2 separate regions of the Homo sapiens genome follow, and region 1 is linked to region 2. Evidence: promoter capture Hi-C in 16 types of primary human blood cells and fetal thymus (Javierre and others, 2016). All regions are on one chromosome and are shown on one strand. Each heading gives the region's core, a stretch centred on a gene start or on the middle of the fragment in contact. The rest is flanking DNA. Distances are from core to core; before and after follow the strand shown. Region 1 overlaps TMEM123 (transmembrane protein 123). Region 2 holds the start of BIRC3 (baculoviral IAP repeat containing 3).

Region 1 (5,440 bases), core at 2,261-4,760, 110 kb after region 2:
ATCCATTTCTATTCTCAAGATGATAGCATATGTGTCTAATATCTGTCAATCAAATACTTGTGATCTCCAAGCAGCACCCAGGAATATCAGAAAGAAACAGAGGCTTTTACGCCAACCAGTTCTGTGCTGAAATTGTGGCACAGTCATCTTCTGTGTAGCTCTTTTTTCATCTCTAAAATAGCTAAAATAACACTTAACTCATATGGTTATTGTATGGAATGTAAGAACAAGGATGAAACACCTTGAACAACAACGCTTGGCAACAGCATCATGCTCAACAGATGGTTACGGTCCACTGTTATGAACACGAGCAGTATCATTTTATAACAGGTTATGTGCAAATAATAAAGATGGTTGGCTTGGACCTTCTTTTGAGCATAGACCCATTTCCTTCCCCCTCACCACTGTTCATGTTGTGTCCTCCAATGATACTGATAAAAAGCATTGTCTGTTTTTCGTTTGTCCATCTATCAATGCCACATCCACTCAGACCTAGGTCAAGCACTGTTTCCTCCAGGATTGTTTTTTTTTTTTTCTTTTTTCTTTTTTTTTTTTTTTTTGAGGCAAGGTCTCACTCTGTTGCCCAGGCTAGAAGTGCAGTGGCATGGTTGCAGCTCACTGTAGCCTCAACCTCCCAGGCTCAGTTGATCCTCCCACTTCACCCACCCGAGAAGCTGAGGCTACAGGCATGTGCCACCACACCTAGCTAATTTTTGTATTTTTTGTGGAGACAGGTTTCCCCATGTTGTGCAGGCTGGTCTTAACTCCTGGAGTCAAGCAATCTGCCTCCCAAAGAGCTGGAATTACAGGCATGAGCCATTGTGCCCGGCCCTCGAGATTTTCCTAACTGAAAGTAAGCTCTCCCTCTTCTGAGTGCTCACTTACATTATCTGCACCTTTATTATTGTACTTAGCATACTGGCCTTTTACTATAGTTATTTTTGTTCTTATTAACTTTCCAATTAAATTTTAAGCACCTCATGGTGATATTTATGTCATGTCTCTGTAGCTCCCCCAGTACCTGGCACAGTGCCCAACACATAGAATGTACAAATGAACATTTGTTGAGTGGCTATAATGAAATATCAGTCTTAGGTAACAGAATTTCCTCTAAATATCAAAAGGAAGGTCAGCTGGATTTTGGCAGCTTTGCTTTTGAGTCTAAATAACCATAGTATCCTATCAGAACTCTTGACTTTGCCATTCCTGACCACTGTGTTTAGATCGTTCTTAACAATAATAACAGTTAACACATCCATAGCACTTATGTGCCAGGCACTGTTCTGAATGCTTACCTACATTAACTCATTTAATCCTCACAACAACTTTAGGAAGCAGTAATAGAAGGGAGCCGATGCAGACAGCACTTTTACGCCCGCATCACAATTCATTTCCCTCTATATTTATTATCTTTTTTTTTTTTTTTAAGTGATGGTGTCTCGCTCTGTCTCCCAGCCTGGAGTAGATGTGGGTCCTCAAGGAGAACTGCTTTGAGCTAACTAGTAGACTTACAAAGTGCTCATCGTAAAAGATTTTACAAACAAAACAAAAAGCTTAAAACCCTTGAGTGGAAAGTTATCTAAGAGCAATTTCTTTACAATAATTTTCCCTGCTTAAAGAGGCTGCTATGTAAGTTTTAGCTACTGCAAAGAAGTTAGAAAAATTACCTTTGACTTCAAAAAGTTTACAACCAAGTAAGGTATGCAAAGATCTTTGGTGTCCCTTTGTTGCTGCTGTTTAACAATGAAAGCAAATTTACTTACTAGAAGACAAAGATACAGATTGAATAAACTCATGGCTTAATGTTTTTAAAGTAGTTCCCCCCCCCCCCCCATTTATTGCTCAAAATCCACAACTGGCTATTCAGTTGATAAAAAGTTTTGTGTCTGGGTATATATATCAGTTATTTGAAGTTCTATAGTTGGGATATTGCCAAACCAAATTGAAGTTTTCTAACTATAAATGTATTACTGTCTATTACAGGAGAGAACTCTGAGATTAAGTTGCAGGGTTTTTTGTTTTGCGGGTTTTTTTTTTTTTGCTGGTTCTCTTTTTCACAATCTAGTCTGTGGCTGGAACACACTATACATATCTTTATCCTCCATATCTAGCTAGCTCACTGACAAACATTGTTGTTCAAACACAGTTGGCTTTTGTTTAGTTTCTTAAACAATACATGCCTTTTAATATCAAATGGCACCATGCAATCCTACCACACTTACATGAACTCGATCAGTCTTCAGTCTTAACTTGTTCCTTGAGCTTTTTGTTGACTGAATTTCACAAAAGAGGACCCAGGTCTCTGCTGAAGTAGCACATGCCCAAGGACTATGAGGAACAAGGGGAGAAGGCAGAAGTGGAAGAGAAGGCAGAAGTGGGAGAGAAGAAATAGGGAGGGTATAAATTCTTTTTTTTTTTTTTTTTTGGAGACAGAGTCTCACTCTGTCGCCCAGGCTGGAGTGCAGTGGCACAATCTCAGCTCACTGCAACAGGGAGGCTATAAATTCTACGGAAATGGCTGGGTGCGGTGGCTGATGTCTGTAATCCCAGCACTTCGGGAGGCTGAGGCAGGTGGATCACGAGGTCAGCATTTCGAGACCAGCCTGGCCAATACGGTGAAACCCTGTCTCTACTAAAAAACACACAAATTAGCCAGGCGTGGTGGTACACACCTGTAGTCCCAGCTACTAGGGAGGCTGAGGCAGGAGAATCACTGGAACCCGGGAGGCAGAGGTTGCAGTGAGCCGAGATCGCGCCACTGCACTCCAGCCTGGGCAACAGAGCAAGACTCTGTTTCAATTAAAAAAAAAAAAATTCTACAGAAATAGAATGAAAATGTAAACATTCTACCAGTTCATTTAGGAAGACAAAGAATATTTACTCTGAGATTCAGAAAAGAATATACATATCTTATAAAAATTATCACAATAATCTTCTGGCAAGACACTCTTCCTCAATGAGGATATAAACTTGCTGGAAGGAAAAATGAGATGCTGATAAAAAAAAGTGATTTAACCAGGCCATGCATGGAGTCTAGAGAGGTCTGAATTGTCCCTTCCTCACCCTTCCTGGGAGTGTGAGTCTATCGTTATTTACTATTAGCTAAGAAGAAAAAAACAAGAGTACATTAATTTAAAAGGTTTTTCTTAGTTTAGGATGTTGATATTTCAGATCTAACTTCAATTTTTTATCCTGAATATATTATTACGTTACTACTGCAATATAATCTTAACCTATATTCTTCACAATTTAAAAAAAGTCATTTTATTTTATTTTTTTGAGATGGAGTCTCACTCTGTCACCCAGGCTGGAGTACAGTGGCACAATCTCAGCTCACTGCAACCTCCACCTCCAGGGTTTAAGCAATTCTCCTGCCTCAGCCTCCCAAGTAGCTGGGATTACAGGTGCCTGCCACCACACCCAGCTTTTTTTTTTTTTTATTTTTTAGTAGAGACGGGGTTTTGCCATGTTGGCCAGGCTGCTCTCGAACTCCTGACCCCAGGTGATCCACCCAGCTTGGCCTCGCAAAGTGCTGGGATTACAGGTGTAAGCCAGTGTGCCCGGCCCCCCCAAAAAAAAAAAGTCATTTTAAAGAAGTGTTTTTTCCCCTAGATTACTTTATCCCATATCACAAATTAAATGGCCATCTGGACAATTACTTTATAAAGCTAACTGAAAAAGATATTCTGAGATCCTCAGGAAATGATCCATCTCCAATTTAAGTGGTACATTTTTGCTGCAGCTCATCAAGAATAGGCTATAACTCTGACAAGAGCAGATGTTTCTGAAGAGAAAGGAGACTAGTAACTACTGGCCACCAAGTCTGGCCAGGGAAAATCATTACCACTGACTGTGGCTATGTGGCCAGTAGAATGAACATCTGTTCTTTTTTCCCTGCCCAGCTCCTGTTCCACTCTTCCTTCAGGCAAACACCCTTCGCTCACCCCCTGGGGTCTGGAGGGACTACGAGTGGGTAGGCACGAGATTCAAACCAGGTCAATCAGCCTCTCGCAGGAGTCTGAAATGTGAGTAGAATACACCAGGATGGACAACAGTTAACACAGTCATTTTGATGGCAGCCTCCTCAGGAGATTTGTTAATTCCTGTCCCTGAAATCCCTAGCCACACTAGATCTAGTTCAGTTTTCTTCTTTAGGTTTTGTGAATGTTGGACAGCAGGTGTCCAACAAGTCCTTGTTTATCTAAGTTAGTTATAGAAAATTTCTACTGCTTGCAACCAAATGATTTTAACAATATGAAATTTAAATCTGGGATGATGTCTACTTTCTTCCTGCTCTTTTCTCTTCTTCATAATCACGCTTACGGTTCCTCTTCAGTTTTTTTCCTCCTTTACAACAGAATGCACTTTTCAACTCATGTCAGCAAAAACATTACATGAGACTACTGAAAGGCAAGTTTTGGCGTACAAAATGAAGTTTCTAAAATGAGACTTTCCTCTTTGAGAAGGTCTTTGGCACTCTGCTAACCTTTGACTCTTGCCTTGAGAAAACATTTCCTTACAATTAACAAACATAAAAGCATGAATGCCTGTGTGTGTGCTGCAATGTGACTCTACTTACACCAAACCAACAAGACTATTTTCAGTGCAAAAGTAAACTCCTGACAATCATAGCATTCTACCAAGCAAATGTTTGACATCTTATACATAGCATCTTGTACTGTAAACTATTATAGGCTTCAGATGTAGCCAGACTCACTGCAATCAAATCCAAACTCCCTGAGGGACTTCAGCAACACTGCTCCACCATCACTAAAGCCTCACAACACCGCTTTCCTGTGTCACTTTTATTACCCTCTTTTATGTCAGCAGAAGCACAGATGCTCCTGCCTTGCCAAAAGCCACAGGGCCTGAACAACCCGAGCATCTCCAGAAGCAGCCTGTGCGATGGGAGCACCACACAGCAGGAAGACTGGTGGCAAGCATGGCCCTTCGTAGGGGCAGAGGCCTCTCTGATCTTCCAAATTGCTCTGTCCATCCCCTTCCCCATGCCACCTCTCCCAGCCAGCATGAGTACCTTTTCTGGATGGGCTTCATCTTTATGGAAACAAAGAGGCAAAGAACAGAGTTGCCCGGGACCACAGAAGACAACTGTGGCAATTCTCCCCTGTTAAGTGAGAAGACCAGAGTGCAGGTGGTGATTTGTTTTGACCAAGGGGCTCCATCTCACAACTAAGGCTGGTATAGCAAGCAAAAAACTCAAAAACTGGTTTACTCCTCCCATAGCATTCGCATATCCTTTACTGTTTCAACAAAAACAGCACTGGGTGCTGGGAAGGTGGTGGTGAGTAAAATCAGCCTTCCCCCTGAAGGAGCTGACTTTCTAGTTGGGGAGGCAGAGTGAGATGAAGCATCACATTACATTACTATAAGCCAGTAAACCACAAACTCCTCTGAAGGCTGGTATCCCAGTTATAAGCCT
Region 2 (6,101 bases), core at 1,132-3,631:
CAGTGGTTTCTAAACCACCAATTTCAACAAAATTGAGTTGTCTACTGATAAGTAATTACATATTTTGATTAGAGATCACTAAATGATTTTTGGAATATAAAACATATTTTTTAAATTGTGAAAAAATTGCCATAATAATGTTTCTTCTGGGCCTATCTACTTATCTACTTACTTCTGTGAAATAAGGTTTACAACATTTATGTCTGTAGAAATGAAAAAAGGAACAGAATCTGTGCTGAACCCTAACATATTATAGCTATAGGTAATATTCATGACTGCACACTTGAAAAACTTGCTTAAAATACAAGCTGCCACCCCCTTAAATTGTATTTGTAATGCAGTTATTAACATTTACGATATTTTTATATTGTATTGACCAATTATGCTTTAAAAGTAATGAAAACAATATCAATGATAATGTAATCAAAGAGGATTTTTTTTTTTTTTTTTTGAGATGCAGTCTCACTCTGTTCCAGGGCTGGAGTGCAGTGGCACTGTCTTGACTCATTGCAACCTCTGCCTCCCAGGTTCAAGTGATTCTTGTGCCTCAGCCTCCCAAGTAGCTGGGACTACAGGCGTGCACCACCACACTTGGCTCATTTTTGTATTTTTGGGAGAGACCGGTTTCACCATGTTGGCCAGACTGGTCTTGAACTCCTGACCTCAGATGATCCACCCACCTTCGCCTCCCAAAGTGCTGGTATTATAGGCGTGAGCCACCATGCCTGGTCAAAGAGGAATTTTTTTTTTTTTTAACACTTAGATCCTTATGATCCCAGAGAAAAAAATAGATTTCAAGTTCTAATATGTATTTGTTTCAGAGATATGTGACAGAGAGATGATAAAAGATGTTCAGTACAAACATGTATTAACATTCTGTAGGGGAATTGGAATGTTCAATGACAAAAGGCAATGATAAAATATTTTCAGTTATTAAAGATGACCTGATAATTGCTTCATGGATGATCATGTATGTCAAATTACTATGGTATTAGGATCCATCAAATACATTTAAAAGAGTGCTCTATCAATTTTTTCTGAAAATATCTATGTTTACATTTTGTAGATTCTTGACATGTACAAGAGCTTTATGTTTTAATGTTAAGTTAAAAATGGGCAAGGGAATGCAGAGCTTTTCAAAATTCTTCTGGTGAGTACATAATCAAAAATGTGTAAGGCCTGCAAATTATTTTCAATAATCTCAGGAGTGAGTTGAAAATGGCTTAGAAAGTCTTGATTGAAGCAGACTCAAATGTGGATTAAAATCTCCATATGATAAATACACTTAGTCTTTCTGAAATAATTCCAACTGGAACTTCAGCTGCTATGGACAGCCAAGTCCACCTAAACAAGAGGATGCCTCAGCTCAGTCCAATTGCGTGCAGAATGCACTGGATGCTGTTTCCACAGAACGATGAAGTCTCCAATAATCTTTATGGGCTCTGTCTCTGGTTGGTAATTGTCTTTGATCTACTGGAAGATAGAAAATCAGATGAGCTCTCCAAATCCATCTGTTACCCTGGTACGGATGGCTCTCAGATAAAGTTGCTTAAATTTACTGCTTAGAGAACGTTGAGGGAAATATGGCAGTGCAATTAGACTCAAAGATGTCAGGTTTCCCTGAGAATGGCACTGCAACTCAGAAACCTGCCCTGTGAGATCAAAGGCTATAAAGGAGGGATTTTTTTAAGTAGCCAACTCCACCCTACTTATTAAAAAAAAAAAAAAAACAACTCACCAAACCAAACAAAAGTATTTCCATACAGAAAATTTACCAAGCCATTTCAATCTTTAAAATGGTAAAATAAACTGCAAAGGAGAACTGCATGATTTTTTTCACATACCCCTACATTTCCTTTCACCTCTTACTTTCTTGATCAGAACAAAAAGTAAAAATAAATAGAAATATTTCACAAAGTTTCGATTTTTTTTTTTTTAAATGCTGGACTTCTGCAGCTATAGTAGAAGATTGAAAAACCTAACCTTTTTACGTGTAAAGTGTATGGCGGATGGAGGGTGGAGAACAGGGCATATTGACCTTTTCCAGGCAGGCTAAGCAATGATCGTCCTCTCTATATGGGTTGTTATCAAGATTTCCTCTGACCCACGAGCAATGAAGCAAATGTCTTTCAGTAAATGCCGCGAAGATATGCCACGGTTAAGAGTCATGCTTTTGGGTCATGGAAATCCCCGAGTGGGTTTGCCAGGCCACTGATTAAGAGGAAGTGTGTGTGGTTATTACCGCTGGAGTTCCCCTAAGTCCTAAAAGGAAAGCACCAGTGCACATGCAAACCACTGGGAGGAGTGCGGAACGCCTGGTACAGATAGGGGTGGGGATTTGGGTGACGCATTTAAAAGACAGCGTGAGACTCGCGCCCTCCGGCACGGAAAAGGCCAGGCGACAGGTGTCGCTTGAAAAGACTGGGCTTGTCCTTGCTGGTGCATGCGTCGTCGGCCTCTGGGCAGCAGGTGGGCAAGGAAGGCTGGTGTGTGTGTGTGTGTGTGTGCGTGTGTGTGTGTGTATGTGTGCGCGCGCGCGCGCCTCCCCTGGTGTAAGAGATGTGCCAGCGGCTGGCCGAGGGGCGCTTAGGGCTAGAGCCCGGGGCGCTGCAGAGGTTGAGAGTCAGTGGGTGGGGCGCAGTTATCAAACACCAGGGCCCAAAAGCAGGCTCTAGATAGGTTCCAGGTGCTCAATTTCTATTTCACGTTTGGAGTGAGCCAGTGGAATTGTGAAGTTGTGGCATTTTGATTCGGTTGCCAAGAGTTATCACTGGGCCTTTGCAGGTGCCAAATAAATTTCAGGACAGAGCCTAAGGCAGAGCTCTGGCACAGGAAGGAAGTAAAACGTTTAATGAGCAAATGGACGCATGTTTCCAAGCGGTGGTAGGAAGACAGCAGTTTTTGGTTGTCTTCCTGGTGATCAGCATGGAAACCTAGTAGTGCTCTTACTCTGATCAATACATTGTCGAAGGCATGTACCTGATGCTAACGTAACAATAATATTAAATATTGACTTTATTTGCTATTATTTATTGCTAACATTAAGTACTGCTACCTGCTATGTGCTAGGTTTGTCTCTGAAGACTTTACATGTATTTTTCACGTTTAATTATCATAATCTTAAGAAGCAGGTACCATAATTATCTCCATTTGACAATGAGGAAACTGAGGCTCTTGGAGATTTACTTGTGCAAGGTCATGCTTCTGGTTACCGGACTGCTTGGTATTGGGCACCCCCGATGTCTGACTCCAAAGCCTGATACTAATCAATCACTGAGCTGACTCTGTGGTCATTAATATAAAATTGATAGAAGTACTGTGGTCACTCAGGTCTCAGTCATTTACTTCTTCAACGGGAAGTCTTCGTGTCTACCCCATATACCAAGCTCTGCAGATGCTATGAGTGGGAGGGCAGGTACAGAGATGAAACATATTAATAGTTGCCATTCTAAAAGAGCTTACTGTCTAGCGGGAGGCAGAAAGAAAAGGCACACTTGCCCTCCAGTGTCAGAAAAATGGATGTGCTGCATGCCCAAAGGGTAGGGATGCCCAACAGCCCTGGGACTGGGGAGGTTGCCTTCTTGGTAGGTTAAATGAATGAGTCAGAAGAGGAGAGGCTGGGGACTGAGCCAATCTGAGAAGGAACCACTAGAAATGAAAGAAGAATCCCAAGAGCTTGGTATCAGAGAAGCCCAGGGAATGGGACATTTCTAAGAGGAAGTGTGTCCCAGTGTCAGATGCAAACATTTCCATTGGTTTTAGCAAAAAAGCCATTGGTGTTATTAACACCGAAAGCAGTTTTAAGTGATGCTGACTTAATGAGTAAATGGGAGAGGGAAAATGGAGACATTAACCATACACACATGTCCAGTTTGCTTGGCTGTGAAGAGAAGGGGTGATACAGGGTAGTTGCTAGAGTGGAAAGTGTGGTTGAAAGAGGATTTTTTTTTTTTTTTTTTGAGACAGAGTCTCACTCTGTCACCCAGGCTGGAGTGCAGTGGTGCAGTCTCGGCTTACTGCAACCTCCACCTCCCGGGTTCAAGCGATTCTCCTGCCTCAGCCTCCTGAGCAGCTGGGACTACAGGTGCATGCCACCACACCCGGCTAATTTTTTGTATTTTTTTTAGTAGAGACGGGGTTTCACCGTGTTAGCCAGGATGGTCTCAGTCTCCTGACCTCGTGATCCACTCGCCTCAGCCTCCTGAAGTGCTGGGATTACAGGCATGAGCCACCACACCCGGCCGAAAGAGAATTTTAAAAATTTCTTTCATTTGAAAGTTGAGATAGATTTAAGCATGGTTATGTGAAAGGAAAAAGGCCAGTCGAGAGTGACAGGAATGAGAGTTGAAGCAATGAGGGGATGGGATTAAGAACAAGATTTCTGAGGCAGTAGGACAGTGTAGGATCCCATAAGGGGGCAAGTCTTTAACTGAGACAGCAAGTAGGTTGTGAGCCAAAACGGCTTGGATATGAGAACGTGAGAAGGTTCCTGCTCAATGATGTCTCTTTTCTTTGAGAAACAGAAGGCAAAGTAATTGACTGAAAATGAGATGGAGTGCAGTGGAGAAATTTGAGGAAGGTGTTGAAGGTTTAGAAGAGGTGCATAGGGCATGGGCTAGGGAGCTGAGCCTATTGCTAAGGGATGGCAGAGGAGTCTTAAGTGATGCTGGTCCCAGTCTGCAGGGTTGCATCTAGGTGTTGGAAATGATTAGGACAGAGGTTGAAGTGATCTAGGGTTGACATCTTGGCATATTTGTGTATATTTATTGTATAGTTGTTGCCTAAATTTCCACAAATATATGCCTTGCTGGAGTGCAGTGGTGTGATCTTGGCTTACTGCAACCTTCACCTCCCGGGTTCAAGTGATTCTCCTGCTTCAGTCTCCTGAGTAGCTGGAAATACAGGTGCGTGCCACCACGCCCGATGGTTTTTTTTTTTGGATTTTTAGTAGAGACAGGGTTTCACCATGTTGGCCAGCCTGGTCTCGAACTCCTGATCTCAAGTTATCTGCTTTCCTTGGCCTCCCAAAGTGCTGGGATTACAGGCGTGAGCCACCACGCCTGACCTAAAGCTTCTTTAGGATAAGATTTGTGTAAGGGGTTTGCAAACTCAAATGGAGGTGATATAAATGAGAAAAACTCTCAGTGTCTCTCTTTCTCTCTCTCTCTCTTTTTTTGAGACAGGGTCTTGCTCTGTCACCCAGTTTGGAGTGCAGTTATGCAGTCTCACACTGCAAGCTCTGCCTCATGGGCTCAAGTGAACCTCCTGCCTCAGCCTCTCAAGTAGCTGGGACCACAGGCAGGTGCCACCATGTCTGGCTAATTTTTGAGTTTCTTTGTAGAGATGGTGTTTTGCCAAGTCACCCAGTTTGAGGCTGGTCTCAAACACCTGGGCTCAAGCAATCCATCTACCTCAGCCTCCCAAAGTGCTGGGATTACAGGAGTGAGCCATGGCATGAGGCCTTGTGGGGTGTCTCTTTTAAATGAAAGCATACTCTGTTTACGTATTTGATATGAAGGAATATCCTTCCTTTCCACAAAGACAAAAATTATCCTATTTTTCTCAAAACATATGTCCTTTTTCTCTACTTTTCATTTTTGTTACTTTTGATGGACACATGTGTTACATTGATTTCACTTTCTCATAATTCTGCTGTAAGAAAAACAATAGTGCCAGTTCAATGACAAATAGCAACAGTCTGTTATTGCTAGACTGTTACTGTTAGTGGAGACTACCAGAACAGTCAGTCCCAGTGTCAGGGAATCAAAGAGAACATGTTCCCTCTCTAAAGGGCACAGCTGCTGCTCAGCTTTAGCTGATTGCTGCCCTGCAGGACTATAGGCCCAGTGTTGCTAGATCTTTTGATGTTTCAAGAGAAGCTTGGAATCTAGAATGTGATGGGAAGTCTCTTACATTTAAACATGTTGGCAATTAATGGTAAGATTTAAAAATACTGTGGTCCAAGAAAAAAATGGATTTGGAAACTGGATTAAATTCAAATGAGGCATGCAGATTAATCTACAGCATGGTACAATGTGAATTTTCTGGTTTCTTTAATTGCACTGTAATTAGGTAAGATGTTAGCTTTGGGGAAGCTAAGT

What was found. The method cuts DNA at HindIII sites, captures the fragments that hold promoters and counts their contacts. A CHiCAGO score of 5 or more calls a contact.
Region 1: a fragment that was not itself captured here is called in contact with the fragment with the promoter of BIRC3 in region 2 in 5 of 17 cell types (activated CD4 T cells, non-activated CD4 T cells, total CD4 T cells and 2 more); the score reaches 9.0 in activated CD4 T cells.

Annotation. Positions count from the first base shown.
Region 1 is chr11:102,425,041-102,430,480 of GRCh38, forward strand. The region is part of intron 2 of TMEM123 (transmembrane protein 123); the gene reads right to left. Among named protein-coding and RNA genes, the nearest start is that of TMEM123, 25 kb to the right of the region's middle. RefSeq lists a silencer at 3,918-4,095 and enhancers at 4,720-4,779, 4,860-5,009. The HindIII fragment of the contact is 3,918 bases long and covers 1,552-5,440 here.
Region 2 is chr11:102,315,103-102,321,203 of GRCh38, forward strand. It overlaps BIRC3 (baculoviral IAP repeat containing 3), which reads left to right and starts at 2,382. Exons shown (of 9, transcript NM_001165.5): 1 at 2,382-2,469. It overlaps LOC124902739 (a long non-coding RNA gene), which reads right to left and starts at 2,141. Exons shown (of 2, transcript XR_007062864.1): 1 at 1,984-2,141; 2 at 793-1,470. RefSeq lists enhancers at 1,829-3,028, 1,933-2,002, 2,013-2,372, 3,174-3,373, 3,634-3,683 and 2 more. The HindIII fragment of the contact is 7,438 bases long and covers 1-5,069 here.